Regions from separate parts of the Homo sapiens genome. Here region 1 is linked to region 2. Evidence: promoter capture Hi-C in 16 types of primary human blood cells and fetal thymus (Javierre and others, 2016). All regions are on one chromosome and are shown on one strand. The core of a region is centred on a gene start or on the middle of the fragment in contact, and the rest is flanking DNA. Distances in the headings are between cores, read along the strand shown. Region 1 overlaps FBXO42 (F-box protein 42). Region 2 holds the start of SPATA21 (spermatogenesis associated 21).

Region 1 (5,952 bases), core at 3,043-5,542, 190 kb after region 2:
TTACTTGGGAGACTAAGGCAGGAGAATCGCTTGAACCTGGGAAGTGGCGATTGCAGTGAGCCAAGATCACCCCATTGCATTCCAGCCTGGGCAACAGATCGAGACTCTTAAGGAAAAAAAAAAAAAAAGTAAGTTAGGGTCAGTATTCCTGAGCATGGCTCTAATTAATCCAATTAGTTATCTCATCCTAGCATTCTGTTCTTTAATCCCTTAATCACAGACCAATAAATTGAAAAATTTGCTCTATAAAATCATAGTTATATAGAATCTCTTTGACATATGGTTCTATTCAGTAGGATCAAATTCTGATGGAACCTCCACCTTGCCTGCTGTGCTGTGCCTGCAGAAGGCCAACTTTCGAGAACAGAATGCTTTTACTTATTCTACTTTATTACCCAGCTCTTGCCCTTTTGGGCTTTAGAGGAGAAGAGGGGGAGATTGACAGGACAAGTGGAAATGGTGGGCCCTCCAAATGTGATAGGTTGGTTGAGCCACATGTAAAGGGCATGAAAAGAAAGAAAGAAGGAAAGAAAAGAAAAAAACAAATGGGATGGGTTGTGGAATGGGTAGGAACAGGAAAACTGTGTCAGGCATGACATTTCTGTGAGGTCATTGTCCCTACCTCCTGTCCTGTCCACTTCTGGCCATACTGGACAGCTCAAGCCATAGTCAGGAGCCAGAGCATTCCATCTGTATCACTGTCTGATTCAGCGGTAGCAGCAGTTGTGGTCATTCCCCCTGTGCTCTGAAGTGGAAGTTGATGAGCTGTCAGCAGCAAGACCATCCCACACCTGTCCTCCCTTAGGGCATTTCCATCTTCATATTTTAAAACAGTTATGGAGAGAGATTATAGGAGCTACTCTCCCAATGAGAGAGTTTAGGATTTCAGATATTGGAACTATTATTCCTGTATTTTTGTGGGTGAATCAATGACCTTAAGTGACCATGAAAGAGAGACTGCCATCCAGGAGTCTGTCCTCGTCATGTTGGTCCCTTGAGGGTTAGAGATGCCAGTCTGTCCTTGATAAAACTGCAGCTTTCATTAGTCATTGTGCAATTACTTTTTGTAGCCAGAATCGATAAAGCTTTTAACTCCTGGACAATGATGAAGCTGCCTTTTGAATCGTTTTTTCTCTTCTTTGTGGTTTTTGCTTTTGAAAACTGTAGCTTAACCAGTGTCTATTTCCTGCTGTCACCAATTAACTATTTTTTAATCATCTGCTTTTACTTCAGTTAATAGATGGTTAAAAAAATAATCTCATTAGGCACTAGTGTCTGGCCGCAGACGTGGCTCAGATGAGGCCTCGTGGAAAGAGCAGAGGGAGGGTCTCAGGATGACTTCTAGGGAAAGTAGGGGAAGAAAGATACAGCCTAAGTGCTAAGTAGGAGCATAACACTTTGCTGCGCATCTTTATAAAGGTCCCTTCATTTTATATCAGCTCCTCAGACAGTAGTAACAGTATTTTCATTTTAGAGATAAAGTCAGAGTTAGAGAAAATTAAGTGACTTGTTCAGGCTACAGAGCTGGGATTCAGCAACATGGTCTCTTTCTGGTTCAGAAGCCCCTGAACTCTGAGTAGGGCATCTCTAAAACCTGCTCCAGCCCACACAGTCTGTGAAAGTGAAAATGGTGCAAGTTTGCCAGATGGGCCACAGGCATGTGGAACTCCCCAGCCACCATTATGGTCCCTGGGAGCTCCTAACTACCTTTATCCTTCTGTCCTTAATTCACAGGAGCAATGATGTCTGGGTCCTTGACCTTGAGCAGTGGGCGTGGTCCAAGCCGAACATCTCTGGCCCCAGTCCTCATCCTCGAGGTGGCCAATCTCAGGTGCTCAGGAATTAAAATAACTATTCAGCAAACACTGTAGCGTCTTTCAGTTAGGACGGGAGAGGGAGGAGGGAGTCAGGTAAGATGCCAATATGCACTAAGCCAAAGAAAATGTATCATTCTTTTTTACTGGTATTTATTTTTCAACTTCTAATGGGTCATATTATTTATAGTGGTTTTATATTATGCTCCTCCCCAAAGCATTTACTTTGCTGTGTCATTTCTCAAGAGAATCCTGCATTTTATGTGGTTGACATTCATGTTAATATTTGATCAACAAAGAATGTATCCTTTCAGGTGAATTATCAGTAATTTATTCACAGGGATCAGAATTGATATGTTTTTAGGAGAATGGAGAGGTTATGGTAACTAGAATATTCCCATTTGGGAGCTAGGTAGGCTATTCTCATATACCAGTGAAGCATAGAAAGTCAGAAACCTGTGTCTTTGTAGGTTTATTTTCAATGTCTTCCCCTCCTCAGATTGTCATAGATGATGCAACTATCTTAATCCTCGGAGGGTGTGGCGGTCCCAATGCTGTGAGTATTGCTTCTGTGGCATTCCCATGTGCATGCTACTAAGTGTTCAAAACCTGTTTCCCCTGTCTTCTTTTCTAGGAGTATACAAGACTATTTCCATGGCATTTTAATTTAAGGAATGCTTTTTGGGTATAGCCTTTGTATTTTCTGGCCTTTGTTTCTGCTTTTTTTTAGGGTTGTGGGGGGATCCTTTTAATCATAGATATTTGTCTCTTGAATATTCATATCTATATTCTTCCCATTCCTATTTCCTTTTTAGGCTATAAAGTTTACTGCTATCATATTTTCAAAGGGGAGAGGGCAGTGGAACAAAAAAGCAGGTTGATAACTGTCAGAGTTCACACAGTATTTAAGAAAGCAGATTCAGAAAGTTGTGGATATGTATTATTTATCCTCTCCTTCAATCCCCAATACATACACATAAAATTATGGGCAAGTGTCAAAACCACTCAGTTGATTCATGGGTCACAAGCACAATTCCATGTGCTAAGCCAGTGGTAATATATGAATGAATGAAAGCGTAAGTGGATGCATGCACAACTGAATAATTAACTGAGGATTTTGCTATCCTTCTGAAGAGTCCACATCCTTTCAAGACCAGACAGGAGAGCTTTGAGACTGCAACTCTGTGTGTGTGTGTTTTGGAACGCATATCACACCTGAGTCTTGTTATTGGTTTTTTCTCTTACAGCTATTCAAGGATGCTTGGTTGTTGCACATGCATTCTGGTCCTTGGGCCTGGCAGCCACTCAAGGTAGAAAATGAAGAGCATGGGGCCCCAGAACTGTGGTGCCATCCAGCTTGCCGGGTAAGCAGGGAGCTGACAGGCTAGCAGGAGGACAGGTCCTAAATTGTGGAAAACCACATTACTTTGTCAGGTTACAAAGAAATTTGTACAAAAATAGAAAACACCTTGGTGTCACAAAAGAGGTGAACATTAGCCATAGCTCCTTTGGCATTTCTCACTAAATGGGAAAACTTACAGGGGCCCTACTCATTCAGTAAGTCCCAACTTTAAGCATCTGTTTGTCTGTGAAACTTTCCCTTCTCCTTCTAACAAAAATTGATTGTTCCCTTCTCCCCACCCCTTCTGTATACATATCTCTAATGATAGCATATGTCACACAAAGCAGCGATTGTTCCCATGTCTGACTTCTAGCCTAGAGGGCAGACTACATCATTTTCATCTTCATATCTCAGGTACCTACAAAATGTCTGGCACATGACAGATGCTCATGATAAAATGTTTGACAGTTGAATGAACAATCAGAATCATAGAAGAGTGTGAGCACTGGTCCTTTGTCTTCCAGGTGGGACAGTGTGTGGTGGTCTTCAGCCAGGCTCCTAGTGGGAGAGCCCCACTCAGCCCCAGTTTGAACTCTCGCCCATCACCTATCAGTGCCACTCCTCCAGCTCTCGTTCCTGAAACCCGAGAGTACCGCTCTCAGTCTCCAGTAAGAAGCATGGATGAAGCTCCTTGTGTTAACGGCCGCTGGGGAACACTGAGACCCAGGGCTCAAAGGCAGACTCCTTCAGGTTCCCGGGAAGGGAGCCTTTCCCCAGCCAGAGGAGACGGCTCTCCTATCCTCAATGGTGGGAGTTTGTCTCCAGGAACGGCAGCTGTGGGTGGCTCTTCTTTGGACAGTCCTGTACAGGCCATATCTCCAAGTACTCCATCTGCTCCTGAAGGATACGACCTGAAAATAGGACTTTCTTTGGCCCCCCGACGAGGATCACTACCAGATCAGAAAGATCTGAGATTAGGATCCATAGATCTGAATTGGGATCTGAAACCCGCTTCCAGTAGTAATCCCATGGATGGCATGGACAATAGGACAGTTGGGGGAAGTATGAGACACCCTCCTGAACAGACAAATGGTGTGCATACCCCACCTCACGTGGCCAGTGCCCTTGCAGGGGCCGTCTCCCCAGGTGCCCTGCGTCGGAGTCTGGAAGCCATCAAAGCGATGTCCTCCAAAGGCCCCTCGGCCTCTGCAGCACTAAGTCCTCCTCTTGGGTCTTCTCCAGGCTCTCCTGGGAGCCAGAGTTTGAGCAGTGGAGAAACAGTGCCCATCCCTCGCCCAGGGCCTGCCCAAGGAGATGGACATTCCTTACCTCCCATTGCTCGCCGCCTGGGCCACCACCCTCCACAGTCCCTAAATGTTGGCAAACCCCTATACCAGAGTATGAACTGCAAGCCCATGCAGATGTACGTGCTGGACATTAAAGACACCAAGGAGAAGGGGCGGGTCAAATGGAAAGTATTTAATAGCAGTTCTGTGGTTGGACCTCCTGAAACCAGCCTGCATACCGTGGTACAAGGCAGGGGTGAACTCATCATATTTGGAGGACTCATGGACAAGAAACAGAATGTGAAGTACTATCCAAAAACAAACGCCTTGTACTTTGTACGAGCAAAGAGATAATGTGTTCTAAACCCCTTTCCTTTTCTGTGGCTTTTAATTTGGAATTTTCCAGTGTGTAAGCATTTGGACTGAGAATTGGGAAAACAAAATTACTCCCAGAAGCCAAAACTCTTTAATTCCCAACCGAAGTCACTCCAGGCTGGGATCAAATCTCCATTAAGAAAAAAAATTATATATAAATATATATATATATATTATATAGCCAACTCTGTTGACAAAAAAAGGGAGAGATTTCCATCCTGGTTCAGATAAAGTTGTTGCTGTGTTTTAACAGGGGCTGGGCTGCCTTTTTCTACCTTGCTGGTAACTAGACCAAGAAGTTAGAGAATAGACTAACATCAGTAACTTCCCAAAAGAAACTGAAGAGCCCCCTGTAAATCTTTATGTGGCCTTCTTGGAGTTAAAAAATGAAAGGGCATATGTAAGTTGCAAAGGTGGAGGGTTTTAGACTCTCATGCTTCAGGTGCTGTCGGGGTAAAAGTAACTGTTTTTCCCCTTCTCTTAAAACCACAGAGGACCTGTGACAGCTCTGCAGAAATGCCAGTGCCTGGCCCCCTCTTGCCTTTTATGGCTGAGGAAAGTTACCCAACAAAGGATTTTATTCCACATTTGTGTGCCGGGTCATTGTGAAATAATGTTTATGCAGCCAACATCTGACCGCCTAGTAGTGTCCATTGGTCTTTGGAGTGCTTCTTGTGTGTCTCAGAAAACATTTTGTGTCTGATTGTGGAAATTTCTGACAATCAATCATATTTGGTGGCAAGTTGCCAAAAAACATATTTATTCTCCTCTTTCTTCCCTTAGAACATGGTACTTGGAAACTGCCTTTTCCATTCACTTACAGGCTGCTTTTTTCTTCTACCTTTTTTCTTTTCTTTTTTTTTTTTCATATGTGGTGAAGTCCTAAAACCTGTCTGACTTTCTGTTTCTTTTACAAAGCTCAGGTGCCTACAGAAATCAGAAGCTGCTTAGAAATACTTGTGGAACCCTTTCCCTGGTGTCACTAGGGGGCCAGTAGGGAATTCTAAGATGCCAATATTGTGAGAAATCTTTGAAGCAAGCATCAAAAGATACTGTTTTTTCCCTATGGGCTTCTTTTTACTTCCAAAGCACATTGAGCACACTCATCCCATATTTGTAGAATGTGGAAATTGAT
Region 2 (6,069 bases), core at 2,116-4,615:
CACCGACTCGTACCCGCTCTCCTCCATCGCGACGCCTGGAGCCCACCGAACTTCCGGCGACTTCCACCGTTCCTCTGTCCGACGGACGGAAGCGGTGCGACTCTCTGACCAGGTTTCGGCTAGAGCGGCAGCTCGCGGGCCTCAGCACCGCCTCGTTTGTGCGCCCTCTGCTGGAAACCCGGCTCAAGACACGTGGCGGGCGACCTCCGGAGGCTTCTCCCTCCCTCCAGAGGCTTCTCCTTCCCTCCAGACACCCTCCGACGCAAAGAAAGCGCCCTGCGCCCGCCATGGACAGACCCCTCTGTAACCCGTGGTCTGGGTGTGGATCATCCCCATCGCTTCAGTTTCTTAGGCCTGGGGCCCAGTTGACCGAGAGGCAAAGCTGTAGCCCACCCTGCAGTATCTCTGTCCTCCAGCCTTTGCCTCGGCGCCTCCTCTGCCTGAATATCCTTCCCTCTCCTGACTGTAAGGCTCAGCTGGCACCTGACCCACCAGACTAAATAGATGCCATTACCCTACCACCCTCCATGCTTCCCCTAGGGGAACCCACTTATATGCTCAGGGCCCCGTGTGGCCAAACCTCAACAACGAGTTGTATTCAAAGAAGTAAAGTTTAGTAACACAAGTAATTTAAGAAGAATTCCAGGCCGGGCTTGGTAGCTCACGCCTGTAATCCCAGCACTTTGGGAGGCTGAGGCGGGCGGATCACCTGAGGTCAGGAGTTCGAGACCAGCCTGGCCAACATGGTGAAACCCCGTCTCTACTAAAAATACAAAAATTAGCCGGGCTTGGTGGCGTGTGTCTGTAGTCCTAGCTAGTTGGGAGACTGAGGCACTAGAATCGCTTGAACCCGGAATGCGGAAGTTGCAGTGAGCTGAAATTGTGCCACTGCACCTCAGCCTGGGTGACAGAGCGGGACTCTGTCTCAAAAAAAAAAAAAAAGAAGAAGAAGAATTCCAGTCTTAACTTCGATTTCTCCCAGAATATTCTGGGAGATACAATGTCTACCCTAGCCAAATTCTCAAAATCCCTCCTTCCCTACCATTCTCTCATTGAGTTGAGTGCCTGCAATGTGCCAGCCCCTATGTGGGGGTGAAGCTGATCCCAAACTTCTGATTCACTGAATACCCCAAACTTTCCCCACCCCTTCTTTCCTTTTCTCTCTCACTCTCCTTCTCCTTTTTACTTTTTTTTTTTTTTTTCTTCAGACAAAGTCTCACTCTGCCGCCCAGGCTGGAGTGCAGTGGTGCAATCTCGGCTCACTGCAACCTCCACCTCCCGGGTTCAAGCGATTCTCCTGCCTCAGCCTCCCGAGTAGCTGGGATTACAGGCACCCACCACCAAGCCTGGCTAGTTTTTGTATTTTTTTGGTAGAGACGGGGGTTTCATCTGGTTGGCCAAGCTGATCTTGAACTCCTGACCTCAAGTGATCCGCCCACTTCGGCCTCCCAAGTGCTGGGATTACAGGCGTGAGCCACCACGACTGGCCATTTCTACTCATTTTTTATAAGCTTTTTATTATAGGATTGATCTAACCACTTACATTTTTATTGTAAAATATACATAACATAAAATTTACCATTTTAAGTGTACAATGCTGTGAAATTAAGTACATTCACAATATTGTGCAACTATATCATGCTTTCCAGAACTTTTCATCATCCCAAACAGAAACTCCACACCCATTAGCAATAACTTCCCATTTCCTTCTGCTCCATCCCTTAGTAACCTCTGTTTTACTTTCTGTCTCTATGAATTTGCCTTTTCTAGATACCTCTTATAAGTGGAATCATACAATATTGGGCTTTTGTGTTTCTTATTTCACTTAGCATCAAGTTTTCAAGGTTCTTTCATGTAGCATGGATCAGAATTTCATTCCTTTTAATGGAGGGATAATATTCCATTGCATGTATATACCATATTTTGTTTATCCATTCATCTGTCAACAATTGGGATGTTATCACCTTTTGGTATTGGGAATCGGGCTACTATGAGCATTGGTGTTCAAACACTTGTTCTAGTCCTGTTTTCCATTTTCTTGAGTGTATACATAGGAGTGAAACTGCTGAGTTATACAATAATGCTATGTTTAGTGGTTTTGTTTTGTTTTGTTTTGTTTGAAACAGCATCTCACTCTGTTGCCCAGGCTGGAAAGCACTGGCATGATCATGGCTCACTGCAGCCTCAACCTCCCAGGCTCAAGTGATCCTCCCAACTCAGCCTCCCAAGTAGCTGGGACTACAGGTGTGAACCACCATGTCCGGCCTTGCTCACCTTTTTGAGGAGCCTCCAAACTGTCTTCCACAGCAGCAGCACCATTTACGTTCACAAGGGTTTCAATTTCTTCACATTTTTGCAAATATTGGTTATTTTTCTTTTCTTTTCTTTTCTTTTTCTTTTCTTTTTTTTTTTTTTTTTAGACAGGGTCTCTCTCTTTCTTTCTCTCTCTGTCACCCCACACTGGAGTGCAATGGTGCGATCATCACTCACTGCAGCCTCAAATTCCCGGGCTCAAGGGATCCTCCTGCCTCAACCTTTTGAGTAGCTGGGCCTACAGGCACACACCACCCTACCCTGCTATTTTTCTTACTTTTTGTAGAGACGGGGGTCTTGCTATGTTGCCCAGGCTGGTCTTGAATTCCTGTCTTCAAGAGATCCTCCTGCCTCAGCCTTCCAAAGTGCTAGGATTATAGGCATGAGCCACCATACCTGGCCTTATTTTCCAATTTTTTTTTTTTTGAGACTAAGTCTCACTCTACCACCCAGGCTGGAAGACAGTGGCATGATCTCAGCTCACTGCAACTTCTGCCTCCCAGGTTCAAGTGATTCTCGTGCCTCAGCCTCCTAAGTAGCTGGGATTACAGGCATGCGCCACCATGCCTGGCTAATTTTTGTATTTTTAGTAGAGACGGGGTTTCACCATGTTGGCCAGGCTGGTCTATAACTCGACCTCAAGTGATCCACCCACCTCGGCCTCCCAAAGTGCTGGGATTACAGGTGTGAGCCACCGCACCCAGCCATTCAGAGCACTTTCAGTTCTGTTCAGTCTAACAAAGACAGGCATCGAGCACATACCCTATGCCAGGTGCTGAGTACTGGGGTCACTGGGATGTGGCCAATCCAGCTCCTACCATCCTGGAGCTCGCAGACTGGAGGAGACAGAGAGAAAAGCAGTCATTGGCAAAGCAGAATGAAAGGTACTGTAATGAAGCAAATTCACAGGGGCCTGTGGGAGCAAAGAGAAGAAACCCCACACAGTCTGGGGAGAGTCAGGGAAGGCTTTCTGGGAGAGAGTACCCTGGCCCAATAATCACTGTGAGGTTGGCAAGGCAACGATTGTTATCTTCATTGTGTAATGGGGGCCACTGAACCAGTGACAAGCTGGGGGAAATGACACTGTCCAGTAGTTGGAGGTCACACAGCCCCTTGCCTTATTCTCAAACCCTAACCACATGGCTGGATATTCCTGAAATGCATTCCTAAACCTCTGCTGCTGAGAATAATTGGACCTGCCATCTATTCCCAGTTTAACTGCCCTGTATACCAAACAAATCCAATTCAAGCCAACAGGCAAAGTATAGGCTCAGACAGAGCCCATCCTATGTGCAAGGCGGTGAGCAGGGGTGGAAAATCTCACTGTGACTCATCCAGCTGATTTCTGGTAGGTGCAGGGCCAAGGTGGGGTGTAAGGTGAACAAGCTTTCCCTGACGGCCTCCAGACATATATATGATATGCCACTTATCTTTATCTGCTGTATTTTCCTGCCATCATAGATATTTCCAAGAGAAATTCTCCCATTTTTCAGATGAGGAAACCACTTATAAAAGGGGCACTCAATACCCAAAGAATTTTGAAAAAGAACAAAGTTGGAGGACTCACACTTCCTGATTTCAAAACTTTTTATTTATTTATTTATTTATTTGTTTTTCCATAGGTTATTGGGGTACAGGTGGTATTTGGCTACATGACTAAGGTTTTTGTTTTTTGGTGTTTTTTTTTTGTTTACATTAGTAATTTTTTTTGAGACGGAGTCTTGCTCTGTTGCCCAGGCTGGCGTGTAGTGGTGCAGTCTCTGCTCACTGCAACCTCCATCTCCCAGGTTCAAGCGATTCTCCTGCCTCAGCCTCCCAAGTACCTAGGATTACAGGCAGGCACCACCATGCCCAGCTAATTTTTGTATTTTTAGTAGAAACAGGATTTCACCATGTTAGCCAGGGTGATCTCAAACTCCTGACCTCGAGTGATCTGCCCCCCTTGGCATCCCAAAGTTCTGGGATTACAGGCGTGAGCCACCTTGCCCTGCATGAGTAGGTTCTTTAGTGGTGATTTGTAAGATTTTGGTCCACCCATCACCTGAGCAGTATACACTGCACCCTATCTGTATTTTTTTTTTTTTTTTTTGAGACAGAGTCTCACCCTGTCATCTAGGCTGGAGTGCAATGGTGCGATCTCGGCTCACTGCAACCCTCCACCTGCCAGGTTCAAGCAATTCTCCTGCCTCAGCCTCCTGACTAGCTGGGATTACAGGCATGTGCCACCATGCCCGGCTAATTCTGTACTTTTAGTAGAGACGGGGTTTCTCCATGTTGGTCAGGCTGGTCTCAAACTCCCAACCTCAGGTGATCTGCCCGCCTCGGCCTCCCAAAGTGCTGGGATTACAGGCACGCACCACCACACTCAGCTAATTTTTTGTATCTTTAGTAGAGATGGGGTTTCACCTTGCTGGCCAGGCTGGTCTCAAACTCCTGACCTCATGATCCGCCCGCCTCAGCCTCCCAGAGTGCTGGGATTACAGGTGTGAGCCACCGCACCAGGCCGATAAATGGGACTTTTACAAAAATTTAAAACTTCTGTGCTTCAAAAGACAAAAAGGTGAAAATGTAATCCACATAATGGGAGAAAATTTTTGCAGATCATATATATGATTCAGGACATGTATCTAGAATTTATAAAGAACATTTACCGTGCAATAATAAAAAGACAACCCAGTATAAATGGACAGAGGCAGGCTGGGTGCTGTGACTCATGCATGTAATCCCAGCATTTTGGGAGGCTGAAATGGGAGGATCACCTGAGCCCAAGAGGTCAAGGCTATAGTGAGCCACGTTCATGCCACTGCAGTCCAGCCTGTGGACAGAGTAAGACCCTGTCTGAAAAAAAAAAAAGGGGGGGGCCGGGCATGGTGGCTCACACCTGTAATCCCAGTACTTTGGAAGGCTGAGGTGGGCAGATCACCTGAGGTCAGGGGTTTGAGACCAGCCTGGTCAAGATGGCAAAACCGCGTCTCTACTAAAAATACAAAAATTAGTCTGGTGTGGTGGCACACACCTGTAATCCCAGCTACTAGGGAGGCTGAAGCAGGAGAATTGCATGGACACGGGAGACGGAGGTTGCAGTGAGCTGGAACTAGGCCACTGCACTCCACCCTGGGTGACAGAGCGAGACTCCATCTCAAAAAAAAAAGGACGAAGGCTCTGAATAAACATTTTTCCAAAGAAGATAGACAAATGGCCAATAAGCACATGAAGATGTCCAACATTATCGGCCATTGGGGAAATGCAAATCAAAATCAGAATGAGATAACACTTTACACTCACATCCACTAGGATAGCTATGATAAAAAAGACAAGTAAGGCGGTACAGTGGCTCACACCTGTAATCCCAAAACACTGGGAGGCTGAGGCGGGAGGATCCCTTGAGCTGAGGAGTTCAAGACCAGCCTGGACAACATAGTGAGATTCCCATCTACAAAATATTTGAAAATTAGCCAGGTGTGGTGGTGTGCACTTGTAGTCTCAGCTACTCAGGAGGCTAAGGTGGGAGGATCCCTTGAACCCCAGAGTTGGAGGTTGCAGTGAGCTATGGTCATACCACTGCACTCCATCCTGGGTGATAAAGGAAGACCCTGTCTCAAAAAATAAATAAATAAATAAATAAGACAGATAATAACAAGTGTTGGAGAGGATGCAGAAAAATTGGAGCAGTCATATGCTGCTGGTAAGAAGGTAAAATGATACAGCCACTTTGAGAAAGTCTGGCAATTACTCAAAAGCTAAAAATAGAGTTGA

Evidence for each region. The method cuts DNA at HindIII sites, captures the fragments that hold promoters and counts their contacts. A CHiCAGO score of 5 or more calls a contact.
Region 1: a contact is called between a fragment that was not itself captured here and the fragment with the promoter of SPATA21 in region 2, in 1 of 17 cell types (endothelial precursors). The highest score is 5.3, in endothelial precursors.

What each region holds. Positions count from the first base shown.
Region 1 is chr1:16,249,514-16,255,465 of GRCh38, reverse strand. FBXO42 (F-box protein 42) reads left to right here. Exons shown (of 10, transcript NM_018994.3): 7 at 1,735-1,831; 8 at 2,314-2,370; 9 at 3,062-3,178; 10 at 3,681-5,952. The coding sequence ends at 4,796. Among named protein-coding and RNA genes, the nearest start is that of CPLANE2, 15 kb to the right of the region's middle. The HindIII fragment of the contact is 6,409 bases long and covers 1,088-5,952 here.
Region 2 is chr1:16,434,720-16,440,788 of GRCh38, reverse strand. SPATA21 (spermatogenesis associated 21) reads left to right here and starts at 3,365. Exons shown (of 13, transcript NM_198546.1): 1 at 3,365-3,661. It overlaps NECAP2 (NECAP endocytosis associated 2), which reads right to left and starts at 65. Exons shown (of 8, transcript NM_018090.5): 1 at 1-65. The coding sequence starts at 27. RefSeq lists a silencer at 2,465-2,635. The HindIII fragment of the contact is 2,188 bases long and covers 1,514-3,701 here.